4 separate regions of the Homo sapiens genome follow, and all the other regions are linked to region 1. Evidence: promoter capture Hi-C in 16 types of primary human blood cells and fetal thymus (Javierre and others, 2016). All regions are on one chromosome and are shown on one strand. Each heading gives the region's core, a stretch centred on a gene start or on the middle of the fragment in contact. The rest is flanking DNA. Distances are from core to core; before and after follow the strand shown. Region 1 holds the start of MBNL3 (muscleblind like splicing regulator 3). Region 2 holds the start of RAB33A (RAB33A, member RAS oncogene family). Region 3 holds the start of PABIR3 (PABIR family member 3). Region 4 holds the start of SASH3 (SAM and SH3 domain containing 3).

Region 1 (3,014 bases), core at 106-2,605:
AGCATCCCCCAAAAGTATCGCACATTAGAAAAAAGTTAAAAATTATTTTAAAAAGTAGTTAAACATTCAGGATTAGATTTTCATGGGCCAAGGAGAAGATGGAAATATAATCAGGAAAAATCCAAGGTGTCTGATAAGCCTCATTGTCTATTTACCTTTCACTGGAGGGGGAAACAAAACAAAACAAAATTCAGATAAATTGTATCAAGCATGGATGTTTAGTCATTCCCACATACCAACAATCTGTTTTCCAAACATTATATCAGTAATCACCCAAACGTTTATTCACTAAAGCAGGGAGTCCGCTTAATAAAAAAAGTACCAATCACTTCAAAATTAAATCTTGCAAGTTTTGTTTTAATTGATTCTTTCCCATGAAGTCTACCCACAAATACGGAGAGGCTGTGGGGATCCCAGCTCAATTTACAAACGATGTAAGAACATCTAGGAGAAAATAACTCCTTTAAAACATATTACTTTAATTAGAGCCACAATTAATTTATCTGTTTTATCTATCATCTAGCTAGCTAGCTAGCTAGCTAGCTATCTAAGAGTGCTCAGAAAAACACACAGTAGGTCTATTACCCTAATTATGAAACCACAACAAAGAATCACTTAAATGTCAACTTTCATTACTCGTCTGGGTTTAATTTCGTTTTCTTACCATAAAAGCTTATTGTGTGAGTGTTAAAAACTAAAGTTCCCTTTTTAATAGTCTCCTAAAATCTACTCTCATGCCCTTCAAACCCCAGTAGTAAAAGCGAGCTGCCCAAACGTGTTGACTCAGGGCAGGAAGAGACAAGGTTCTGCAAGGAAGCTGTGGCACTGCTCACGATATCGCGTGAAAATGGGGAAATTCGTTGTTAAAAAGCATTTGCTGATTATATGCCATGCAAGAAGTTCCTTTAAATTAAAAAGAAGAAAGTAGAAAAAAAGAAAGAAGGAAGGAAGGGGAGGAGGAAGAGAAGAGGAGGAAGAGAAGGAAGAAGAAAAAGGAGGAGGAGGAAAGGAGGAGGAAAATGATCAAAGCTCTAAAATCGCAACAAAGTTGCAGGATGACTTTTCCTCCTATTTGCTATTTTGTAAAATGAAGTTTAAAAGGCATTATTTCCTCGGCGTCCGAGGAAGGCAGCCTCTCTTACAAATCCCAATTCATCTCCAGCCTTACCTTACGCTGCTAGCGCAAACCCAGAGGCTAAGGGGCCCTGCTCTCAGCGGCAGCAGCAGGGGCAGCGGCAGCGACAGCGGCACATGCCATCTGTTAGCGGCAGAAGCAAAAGCAGCGCTGCGCGAGGTGGCCCCGGTGCCGGGAGAGCCTTTAGCAGGGGTGCATACTGAATGCCGCCATTTTAAAGCGAGGTTCCTGAAATCATTAGATATAAGCAAATTAAAGCCCGCCCCACCTCCAGAACTTCAGGGCTGGGACTTGCAACCCGGCTCCAAGTCGGCCGCTCTGGGGTATAAAATGTCAAGTCTACAGACACGCGCACGCTGACTCTCGGACGGAGGCGACGGTTCCCCCTCTCCCTTCGGCCCCCTTGACCCCTTCGTGCTTTTTGCAAGACTCCTTTCGGTTCCAGGGGCCAGAATACTTTCTTTTCTGGGCTCCTCGAGGCCCCTTCCCGGGGCCGGCCGGCGGGCTGTGGGAGGAGGGGACAAGGCCACGGGCCGGCCCTACCCGCTCCTCCCAGGCTCTTGGTTCAGTCCACTCGGAGCACACCTCGGAGCGCCCCAGCTCCCTCGCGGAGGCCGGGCGTGGGGCTCCCGCCCGGGCTCGCAGCTACCATAGCAACCCCGGTCCCAACCCCGCCCGGCCTTTGCCAAAGGCGTGCCCTCCTCCCGGGCCAGTGCCCTCCGCCGGACGCCAGACGTCCCCTCGCGCAGCCCCGCCGACCCCAGGCAGCCCGGGCTGGGGCCGCGCCTCCGTGCGTCCCGCGCCGGACAGACGCGGCACGCGGAGGGAAACGGCGCCAGCGAGGGGCTTTAGGCGCCAAAACGGAAACTCCCGCGAAACTCCGCGGGCCAGCGGAGCGCGGGCGGGCATCCGGAGCGCCGGACTCGGAAGCGGCGCACGCGGCCGCCCGGCCCCGCCCCGCCCGGCCAGGTAGCGCGGCGCCGCCGCCAACCTCACCTGGCTCCGCGCGCCGCTGCGGGACGGGCGGGAATGCGGCCAAGGGCCGCCCCGGCTCCCGCGCCCACCCCGGACTCTCTGGCCTCCGCCTCTCTCTCACTGCTCCCAAAGAGCGCCAAAAAGTCGCGCTGCGGCTCACGCTCGGAGTGCGGGCACTTTCTTCCTGTAGGGCGCTGTTTCGTCGCGAAATATATTCTTTGTGTGGTTCGCTCACTCGTGCCTGGTTCTCCGAGAGCGCAGCGCGGGCTTTATTCTCAGGGGGTGTGGCGCCTCGCCCCCAAACCCAGCAGCCCAGCCCCCGCTGCACAGACCCTTTGTCATTTCATTAGGAAGGGAAAGGGGGACAAATCATAACGCTCAGATTTTACAAAAGCGAAAACAAACGAAGCAGGCACACATCCCCAGAGGCGGGGTTGGGGTAGGGGTGCAAAGTTTCTGGCTCTTCAGGAACTGAAGTGCCAGTGAGAAAGGCAGTGTGGTTCACAGCGGGACGCTCATAGACACTTCCCAGACAGGTGAGGCGAAATGGGTCCTTTCAAAATTGATCTTAGTCGATGAATAAGTCCACTCGCTACAGGCTAAATAAATACATTCATACTCACCAGCTGCCTTCTTGGGGGTTTTATCTTTCATAAATGCCCCAATCGTTTATTTCCCTCTAAGAATTTCAGACAGGGAAATGCTGATCAGTGCAATCTGTTCCCCTTCTTCCACGGAGTTTGCAGGATAAGAGGAACCCTGAGGTAAGGTTCCAGATACTTTGGAAAATGGACAAAGCAAATGCAATTTTATATCTTGATTAAAAAGTGTGCATCTGCACAGGGAAATTACAAGTTTCGATTTAATGCAAGTGTAATAGGAGCACCAGCTGTCCCTTAATTGG
Region 2 (2,748 bases), core at 185-2,684, 2.3 Mb before region 1:
CAGTAAAGTCGATTTCAAACAAATTCTGAACCCGCGAATGACTTTAGGGAGAAGGAATACTGGTCTTGACCAAGATGTGTGTGATGATTAGTAAGCTTTGGGCAGCAGCCCCCTAATACTGTAAGGAGGTTGTGTTCATTTATCATCTTCCAAGCATAATCTAGGCTTCTGGCAAATTAGACCCAACCACTTTGTTCTACATTCAGCTGCAGGGGGAGGTGAACCCTCCTAGGGATTCCCAACTCCCTCTGAAACTCCAGCGTTCTGGAGGGACTTATGGTTATATGGAGGGCTTGGGAATGGAAGGCACTGTGGAGCTTATGCCATTGTCCCAAGATCCTCCACCTGGGCCAGTAATGGCTAGCCCCGTAAACAAAGTCCCCTTTTGCTGGAACTGCCACCACTAGCTTCCCCCCCTTCTCCTAGCCTCTGTGTGGCCCTCTCCCGCGGCGGGCCTTCCCCATTGGCCAGCCAAACACAACCGACTGCGGCAGCCAATAGGAGCCGCTCTCCTGAACATTCAGAGGATGGGTGCGCGTGGTGTGATAAGGGGATGTTGGCGCCTGGTACGCGCCCCCCTACATCTGGCAAGTCTGTAACAGAAACAGTTACACCCCCTACACACGCACACGCGTGCCCGCTGGCTCCCTCCTCTCAGCTGTACAGGCCCCGGACAACCCACTGCGTGTCTTGGCAGCGGCCTCCCAGGCTGCCTGGGGCCCGCGAGTGCACCTGCTCACTCATTAAGACAGAGCATCCCTTTATCCCAAGGCGCGGGTCGGGTAGAGGGTGGGGGTAGAGGGGACGGGGTAGCGGGGACCGGGAAGGCGCGGCTCAGCTGCCCGCTGCTCCCGAGGTGAAAGAGGTGCCTCCGCCCCCACCCCATCCCCGCAGAGTTGCGTTGCTCCAGGGAGGCCGAAGTGATCCAGTGATGTCTTAAGGTGCAGCTCTTTGTCCTCCCCAGCTGTGCTCCCTGCCCGCTGACCCCGTGCGCTCGAGCCAGTGGGGGTGGGGAGCCCGAAACCTATAACATAAACGGGGGCAAGGAGAAAGAAGTCTATCCCGGGGTGGCGTGTGCCGCTGTCCCCACCCCGTCTCTTTCCTCCTGAGGCTTCTTCCCTCGGGTCCGTCCCGGGAATGCAGGCAGGGGAGGGTGTGGGCCGAGGCGCGGCGGCGGCTGGAGCAGCGCGGTAGGGTCCTTCGCCAGAGCATCCGGTCCGAGGGCGCACACAGGCAGAAGGCTCGCGGCTCGTCCACTCTCCTCCCTCTCTCCTCCTCTCCCTGGCTTTTGTGTTGGTGCCTCCGAGCTGCAAGGAGGGTGCGCTGGAGGAGGAGGAGGGGGGCCCGGAGTGAGAGGCACCCCCTTCACGCGCGCGCGCGCACACGGTGCCGGCGCACGCACACACGGGCGGACACACACACACGCGCGCACACACACACGCACAGAGCTCGCTCGCCTCGAGCGCACGAACGTGGACGTTCTCTTTGTGTGGAGCCCTCAAGGGGGGTTGGGGCCCCGGTTCGGTCCGGGGGAGATGGCGCAGCCCATCCTGGGCCATGGGAGCCTGCAGCCCGCCTCGGCCGCTGGCCTGGCGTCCCTGGAGCTCGACTCGTCGCTGGACCAGTACGTGCAGATTCGCATCTTCAAAATAATCGTGATTGGGGACTCCAACGTGGGCAAGACCTGCCTGACCTTCCGCTTCTGCGGGGGTACCTTCCCAGACAAGACTGAAGCCACCATCGGCGTGGACTTCAGGGAGAAGACCGTGGAAATCGAGGGCGAGAAGATCAAGGTGATCCAGGGGGTCAGGTCCAGGAAGGGTGGGACCCGGGAGGGGACCTCGCCCGAGGCATAGCTCTAGCGGTTGTCGTCGTCCAGCGTCCAGCGCGTGGCGGTTTCGCCTCTTGCTGAGCCGAGGACCCTCGGCTCCTCCTCACCCCTTTTCACCTCTCTCAGCGGGGCCCCGTCCCCACTTCACTCAGTTTTTTAGGGCGGTTGAGAATGGGGTTGCATTCTTACCCTTAGCCCCTGCCTGACAGGTCCTGCCAGGAAAAGCATGTTGGATTCCCATCCATGACCCCTACCCCGAGCAGCGGCACCTGTGGGCAGAGGGAGGCAGGAGGCATCTGTGGGTCCTAGTCTCTGGGATGGATCCCAAAGCACTTTACACATCCTGATGTCTCTTCTACTGCTTGGGTGCCGATAGGCTGCAAAACCCCACTTTGGCTAAGCCTCAAGGCGTTAGAGGGAAGGAAATGATGGAAATCCATGGAGAATGAAAAAGCTGCTTTATTTTAAATTGCAGTTTATAGTTAAAAAATTAGGGCTGAGTTGAGATGGCGGTGGAGTGGGGTGGTTCTGGCAGAAAGCCATGAGCCCTTTTAAAGAAATTGAGGCAGGGTCCAGCCCTTCGTAATAGACAAAACTTGTTTTTTTGTAACAGCCCCCCTGGAATGATATCTTCTTTACTTGTCTGGGGCATCTAATACATGAACTGCTCCTTATTCATTCTGTTGGTATTGTCTTCAGGTCTTTGTAAAAATGCAGTGACTTAACCGAGGGCCAGGGGAATGTTCAATCCTCCCCCTCCATGAGTTTATGTAATAGGCTAAGTGCAAATATTCTTGTCTGACCATTTGTGCTCACCTTTAATTCAGAAAAGGTAGAAACCTGATATGACAGGAATATGTCAATGTGCAGGGGATGGCGGGAGGGAGGACATAACAAGGGCAACTTCTTGTGTCATG
Region 3 (2,730 bases), core at 214-2,713, 2.3 Mb after region 1:
GTACTCAGTGTGGCTCATTAAGTGATGGTGAAAATTTCTAAAAGAGTAGTTCTTAAAACGATATGAGCCATGGCAGCATTCTTAGAATGTATGTAGCTTCTAATACTACCTGAAATGAAAACACTGATTTGCATTGATACTAAATTCTGAGATATTTGTTTTTAAAAAAGCCTCACTGCTTTAACTCAAATCTTTGTAAATTAGCTGAGGTCTTTATTTTTTATATGAATAGCTGTGAGGAGCCAGATTATATATAATGTAAAAATACACACTGAGGCAGGCGCGGTGGCTCACGCCTGTAATCCCAGCACTTTGGGAGGACGAGGCGGGCGGATCACCTGAGGTCCAGGAGTTCGAGACCAGCCTGGCCAACATGGTGAAACCCCGTCTCTACTAAAATACAAAAATTAACCAGGCGTGGTGGCGAGCACCTGTAATCCCAGCTACTCGGGAGGCTGAGGCAGGAGAATCGCTTGAACCTGGGAGGTGGAGGTTGCAGTGAGCCGAGATCGCGGCCACTGCACTCCAGCCTGAGCAACAAGAGCGAAATTCCATCTCAAAAAAAAAAAAACAAAAAACTGTACGATTATGGTTTAAAAAAGAAAGAAAGAAACCACACTGAAAACAGTAATTCGTTTGCCAAATGAGCTCAGTTAGGTTAGCACCTTAGCAAGACCCTTTGGGACCAAGTGGCCTCTAAGCACTTAGGTAGCAGTATCTTTTTTTTTTTTTTTTTTTCAGACTTTTGCTTTTCTAAAATTACAAAGGTGTAGTGTGTCTGCTGTTACAGGATGGAAAAATGCATCATAGGAGGTTAGAAGCTTGTTGGCCTCAGTCATAAAGGGATAAGAAAAATGAGAATTAGGCATAGGGCAGGAAGGACCTCACTCCTCCCAACGCTTTCATTTCTAAATAATGCTTAAGGAAACCATGCCAGGGTTAGTAAAAGAGTAGAGGCACAACCACGGTAAGTGGGCATTGGGGAAAGAGGAAGGAGGGCAGGACATGGGGATAAAGCGGTTTCTTAACTGCGCGTGCGCCCCTGGCAAAGCTGACTAAGGCGCCTGAAGTGACGTCATTGCCTGCATCACAACAGGCGTCGTCCGGCTGATAGCTTATCGCAGGCTCTGAGGGGCGGGACCCAACTGATTGTCAAAGGCGGCAGATTGTAGTTTTTGTTTTGGCCGGAAAGGCTTACCATGAGTTGCCAGGGCTGAGAGAGATGGAGAAGGATTCGCGGCGGTGACAGATTAAATTCCCCAGTTACATTATAGACTTGGAGGTGGGGGATCTTCTCATCGTTAGAGGCCCCGATCATGGGAGATAGGCGGTTCGGAGCCAGTTCTGCCTAACTTTGTGTTCACTGATGTTAGGGCTGCTAGGGCTGCAAAGGTGGGCACCCCTACTCGCCTAAGAGCTTTCTCCTCTCTTCTCTTTTTCCCCTTTGCCTCTCTCCTTACATCACCTGCCCACTAAGTAGACTTGTCCTTGTGTGGACGGGAGCCGGAAAGCCTTGAGAACTTATTCCTCGACCCGGACATGGCACAGGAGAAAATGAAACTAGGTTTCAAGTCGCTGCCGAGTTCCACTACCGCAGACGGCAACATTCTGAGAAGAGTCAACAGTGCCCCTTTGATCAATGGACTTGGGTGAGCCGGGTTGAGATACTGGAGGAGGCAAGCGGTGGGGAGGAGGTGTTCGGGAAAGTGATTTCCTATAGAATTCCCGTCCCTTTATTTGTTGAGGTTCTGCAGGTAACTCCCTTGTTCCTGGTGTCCGGAGATCCCACCCTCAACCTTGGGTGGGGGTAGTGGGACGGGCTGACCTGAGGGGGAGCGCGCACCCACCCTGAGGTTGACAAACATCTGAATCTGAACATCCTCCCCTGATAGTCCACTCGGACCCGAAAGTAGCAGCCAGTTGGTGTGGAGCACGGCTTTTTTCTAACTTCAACCCATTTCTTACCCACTCCTTTGAAGAAACTTAGTATCCTCCCCCACTCACCTCCAGATCTTCTGCCATGACTGTAATATTTGTCATTTCAGCTGCTTTGTCACCTCTGACCTTCACCTCCAGCCGCTTGAATGGAAATGGTTGTCAAGCAAATAAGCTTTGGACTTTTTTACATTTTTTTTTTTGTCTTTTTTTGAGACGGAGTCTTGCTCTGTCGCCCAGGCTGGAGTGCATTGGCACGATCTCAGCTTACTGTAACCTCCGCCTCCTGGCTTCAAGCAATTCTCATGCCTCAGCCTCCCTAGTAGCTAGGATTACAGGCGCCCACCACCACACCTGGTAATTTTTTGTATTTTTATTTTTTATTTATTTGTTTATTTATTTTTGAGACGGAGTCTCACTCTGTCGCCCAGGCTGGAGTGCAGTGGCGTGATCTCGGCTCACTGCAAGCTCCACCTCCCGGGTTCACGCCATTCTCCTGACTCAGCCTCCCAAGTAGCTGGGACTACAGGCGCCCACCAACACTCCCGGCTAATTTTTTGTATTTTTAGTAGAGACAGGGTTTCACCGTGTTAGTCAGGATGGTCTTGATCTCCTGACCTCGTGATCCGCCCGCCTCGGCCTCCCAAAGTGCTGGGATTACAGGCGTAAGCCACCGTGCCCGGCCTAATTTTTTGTATTTTTAGTAGAGACAGGGTTTCACCATGTTGGCCAGGCTGGTCTCGAACTCCTGGCCTCAGGGGATCCGCCTGCCTCAGCCTCCCAAAGTGCTGGTAT
Region 4 (2,888 bases), core at 67-2,566, 2.7 Mb before region 1:
GAGCTACAATAAACTGCACATATTTGAAGTATACAATTTGATACGTTTTGACATGTGTATTCCCCCATGAAATCATCACCACAGTCAAGATAGTGAACATATTCATCACTCCTAAAAGCTTCCTGTTACCCTGTGTGATGTCTCCCTTCCCTTCTCTCCCCTCCCCTTCTCCCCAAACCAATTATCTGTTTTCTGAGCAGTATGATTTTTGTAAAAAGAAAAAAAATGTTTATAGACAGAGAGTAGATAGATGCTTAAAACAGTGTAGAGGACAATGATGGGAAATTTTGAAATTTTTTTTGTTTATGTGTTTGTGAAATTGTATGACAAATACAAGTTGCTTTTGTAATACCAAGAAGTTATTAAAGTTATTAAAATCTGCCACAGACAACCCACAAATTGAATATACTGCATAGGTGTTTGATAAATGCCTGTTGGATACTTGCTAGAGGTGTGGAGTTGGCTGTAAGTGCTTTTCAGCTGTGGTGGTGATAAATATACTCATGATGGCTGAGGGGTACTGACTGGAGGGGTGACTGCTCTAGTGATGATGGCTTTAGGTGTACTGATGGCTGTAGGAGTGATGGCTGCAGGGCTGATGGCTGCACGGATGTGATGATGGTTGTAGGAGAGATGACTGTAGGGACGATGGTTATAGGGGTGAGAGGGTCATGAGTGCGGTTGGCTGTAATGTCCAGAAGGGTGACAGCTGTAAGGATGATGGCTGGAAGGGTGATAGCAGCAATGGTGATGACTGTAGAGGTGATGGCTGAAGGATGTCAACTGTAGAGGTGATTACCATAGTGACAATGGCTATAGGTGTGCTGATGGCAGCGGGGATGGCTGCAGGCCTGATGGCTGTAGGGGTGATGGCTGTATGGTGATGGCTATTGATAGGAGTGATGGTAGCAGTGGTGATGGTCACAGGGGTGATGGTAGTGGTAGTGATGGCAGTGACGACCTTGAAGACGTGAGTTGACCGGGAGCATTGATCCAACAGGCAGCCAGATGGTCCAACTTCTGGTTTCTGGATTCTGGTCAGTGAGATAAAGGGCTTGGGTACGCCATATAATGTCGAGCTGATTGTCCACCTCTAGGAAGATGGAGCAGAAGGACTGATGATGATCGACATGAGACAACAAGGTAGGGACTTTCTCTGACTGTTCAACCCAAGAGCCGTCTGCATCAGAATCTCTGGAGACTGAAGCTTGGACTTCCTTCCTCCCTAGGGGCCGGCAGGGGCTGCGATTGCTGTAAGAGTAGGTCACGTGGCAGGGCTTCCTGTATGCTGCTGCTGCCGGGTGTCCATGGCCCGCACCCCCAAGCTGCCACTGCAGCAGTCAGAGTGGCAGCTGAAGGCTCGGTTCATGCCGTGCCCCCGGGCAGTTCTGGTGAGGCTAAGCAAGAGGCCTCTGCATCTTGACACCTAGGAGAGCAGGGACGGAGTCTCCCAGGGTGGAGGACCATGCTGCGCCGCAAGCCCTCCAATGCCAGTGAGAAGGAGCCCACTCAGAAGAAAAAGGTGAGGAGCATTTTGGGAACTCACATCTTCCTTTCCTCTGCTTGCTCGACCCATCCCTTCCAAGACTCTTGGAAGTGGGAAGAGCCAAAGGCCATATGTTGAGTCTGTAGGTGAGGGCCACTCACCTAGAAGGCAACGGGACAGGGACCCAAAGGTTAACAGAAGTACAGAAGAGATGTTTAAAATTCTGGAGCAACAGAGTTACAGAATAGATCCTTAGAAATCTAGAGTCATGCAATTCAACCCTAGAAGAATGGGAAAAAAGATCTAAAATTAGGGGCCAGAATCTTAGACTAGAATTTGAGAATAACAAAATACAATGCTTAAGCTGAACCCTAAGCTTGTACTTAACTATCTCTCCTCTACGCTGGTCCTGCTGCCACTTCTGCCCCGGCCACGGCCTCTCAGGAGCCATCTCACTCAAAGGGCCCTGCTGGGCTGCCCAGCTTGGAGCCATGATGCTCACAGGACTGCCACCCCCTCCTCCACTTTGGCCATGGCCCAGACCCTGCCCACTTGGCTCAGCTCTGTGGTAGCTCCCAGGCCCTACCCGAGATGGAGCCAACCTGGAGATGGGGGCCTGAGGCCATTCCAGTCTTGGGGGAAAAGGCATCCGGAAGTGCAGTGGGATGCAGGGGGCATACAGGTTCTTCCTGGGTGGGGAATGAGAAATTAAGTTGAGGTGGTGAGTAGGAGTGAAGGCTGAGGAGGGAGGATTTTAAAGGCCAGGAGGAAAAACAGCTGTCATGGATGGCTGAGGTGTTCATCCCCCTGGGGCAGAGACCGGACTGGAAGAATCCTTGAAGGCTGTGCCAGATCTAGGATTTTGTGGTTGAATTTGAGGATTTCCAGATTTCTTTGGTTGGGTTTGAGGATTTCTAGACCTAATTCTTTAATTCAATTGAAGGATTCTCCCAGACAATCAGCAAGTATATCCTACACATCCAATGGGATGCTAGGACAGTCCCAAAGCAGGCCTGAACTAGGTCCAAGAGGCCCAGGCTATCCCCCGCCAATTTTCCCTGGAACTCAGCCCAGGTGCCCTATGGTGGATCCCCCTTGTCAGGGGAGTAGCTCAGAGATGGAGGCCAAGGCAGCTGAAAGACTGAGACTCGGGGCAGTGGGGTGTGCATCCTGCCCCAGCTCTCAGGTCCTGGGGTGGCTGCCACTTCCGGCTGTATTCTCCCCACCCCAGCTGCTTCTCTAAGGTTGCAGTGGTGGTGGGCGGGGGAGGGGGGAGGTTCATGAATCTTCACACGGGCTCTGTCATCCCCGTCCAAACCCTGCAGGGTGCTAGGCCCAGCAGGACTGCCATTGGCTGCCACTCCTAAGAGAGCAGGGCCACTTCCCCTTGCTCTCTGGCTGG

Evidence for each region. The method cuts DNA at HindIII sites, captures the fragments that hold promoters and counts their contacts. A CHiCAGO score of 5 or more calls a contact.
Region 2: the fragment with the promoter of RAB33A here is called in contact with the fragment with the promoter of MBNL3 in region 1 in 1 of 17 cell types (M1 macrophages); the score reaches 6.9 in M1 macrophages.
Region 3: a fragment that was not itself captured here is called in contact with the fragment with the promoter of MBNL3 in region 1 in 1 of 17 cell types (total B cells); the score reaches 7.0 in total B cells.
Region 4: a contact is called between the fragment with the promoter of SASH3 here and the fragment with the promoter of MBNL3 in region 1, in 2 of 17 cell types (naive B cells and non-activated CD4 T cells). The highest score is 8.4, in naive B cells.

Annotation. Positions count from the first base shown.
Region 1 is chrX:132,487,683-132,490,696 of GRCh38, forward strand. MBNL3 (muscleblind like splicing regulator 3) reads right to left here and starts at 1,356. Exons shown (of 9, transcript NM_001386889.1): 1 at 1,169-1,356. RefSeq lists a silencer at 1,635-2,204. The HindIII fragment of the contact is 7,236 bases long and covers 671-3,014 here.
Region 2 is chrX:130,170,528-130,173,275 of GRCh38, forward strand. It overlaps RAB33A (RAB33A, member RAS oncogene family), which reads left to right and starts at 1,435. Exons shown (of 2, transcript NM_004794.3): 1 at 1,435-1,793. The coding sequence starts at 1,536. RefSeq lists enhancers at 159-208, 1,018-1,972 and silencers at 589-648, 819-898. The HindIII fragment of the contact is 5,739 bases long and covers 94-2,748 here.
Region 3 is chrX:134,806,060-134,808,789 of GRCh38, forward strand. It overlaps PABIR3 (PABIR family member 3), which reads left to right and starts at 1,178. Exons shown (of 11, transcript NM_001388447.1): 1 at 1,178-1,282; 2 at 1,481-1,649. The coding sequence starts at 1,540. RefSeq lists enhancers at 1,535-1,694, 2,080-2,730. The HindIII fragment of the contact is 1,289 bases long and covers 820-2,108 here.
Region 4 is chrX:129,778,633-129,781,520 of GRCh38, forward strand. SASH3 (SAM and SH3 domain containing 3) reads left to right here and starts at 1,317. Exons shown (of 8, transcript NM_018990.4): 1 at 1,317-1,522. The coding sequence starts at 1,466. It overlaps LOC124905215 (a long non-coding RNA gene), which reads right to left. Exons shown (of 2, transcript XR_007068328.1): 2 at 1-1,647. RefSeq lists enhancers at 1,068-1,227, 1,478-1,557, 1,608-1,667. The HindIII fragment of the contact is 655 bases long and covers 1,206-1,860 here.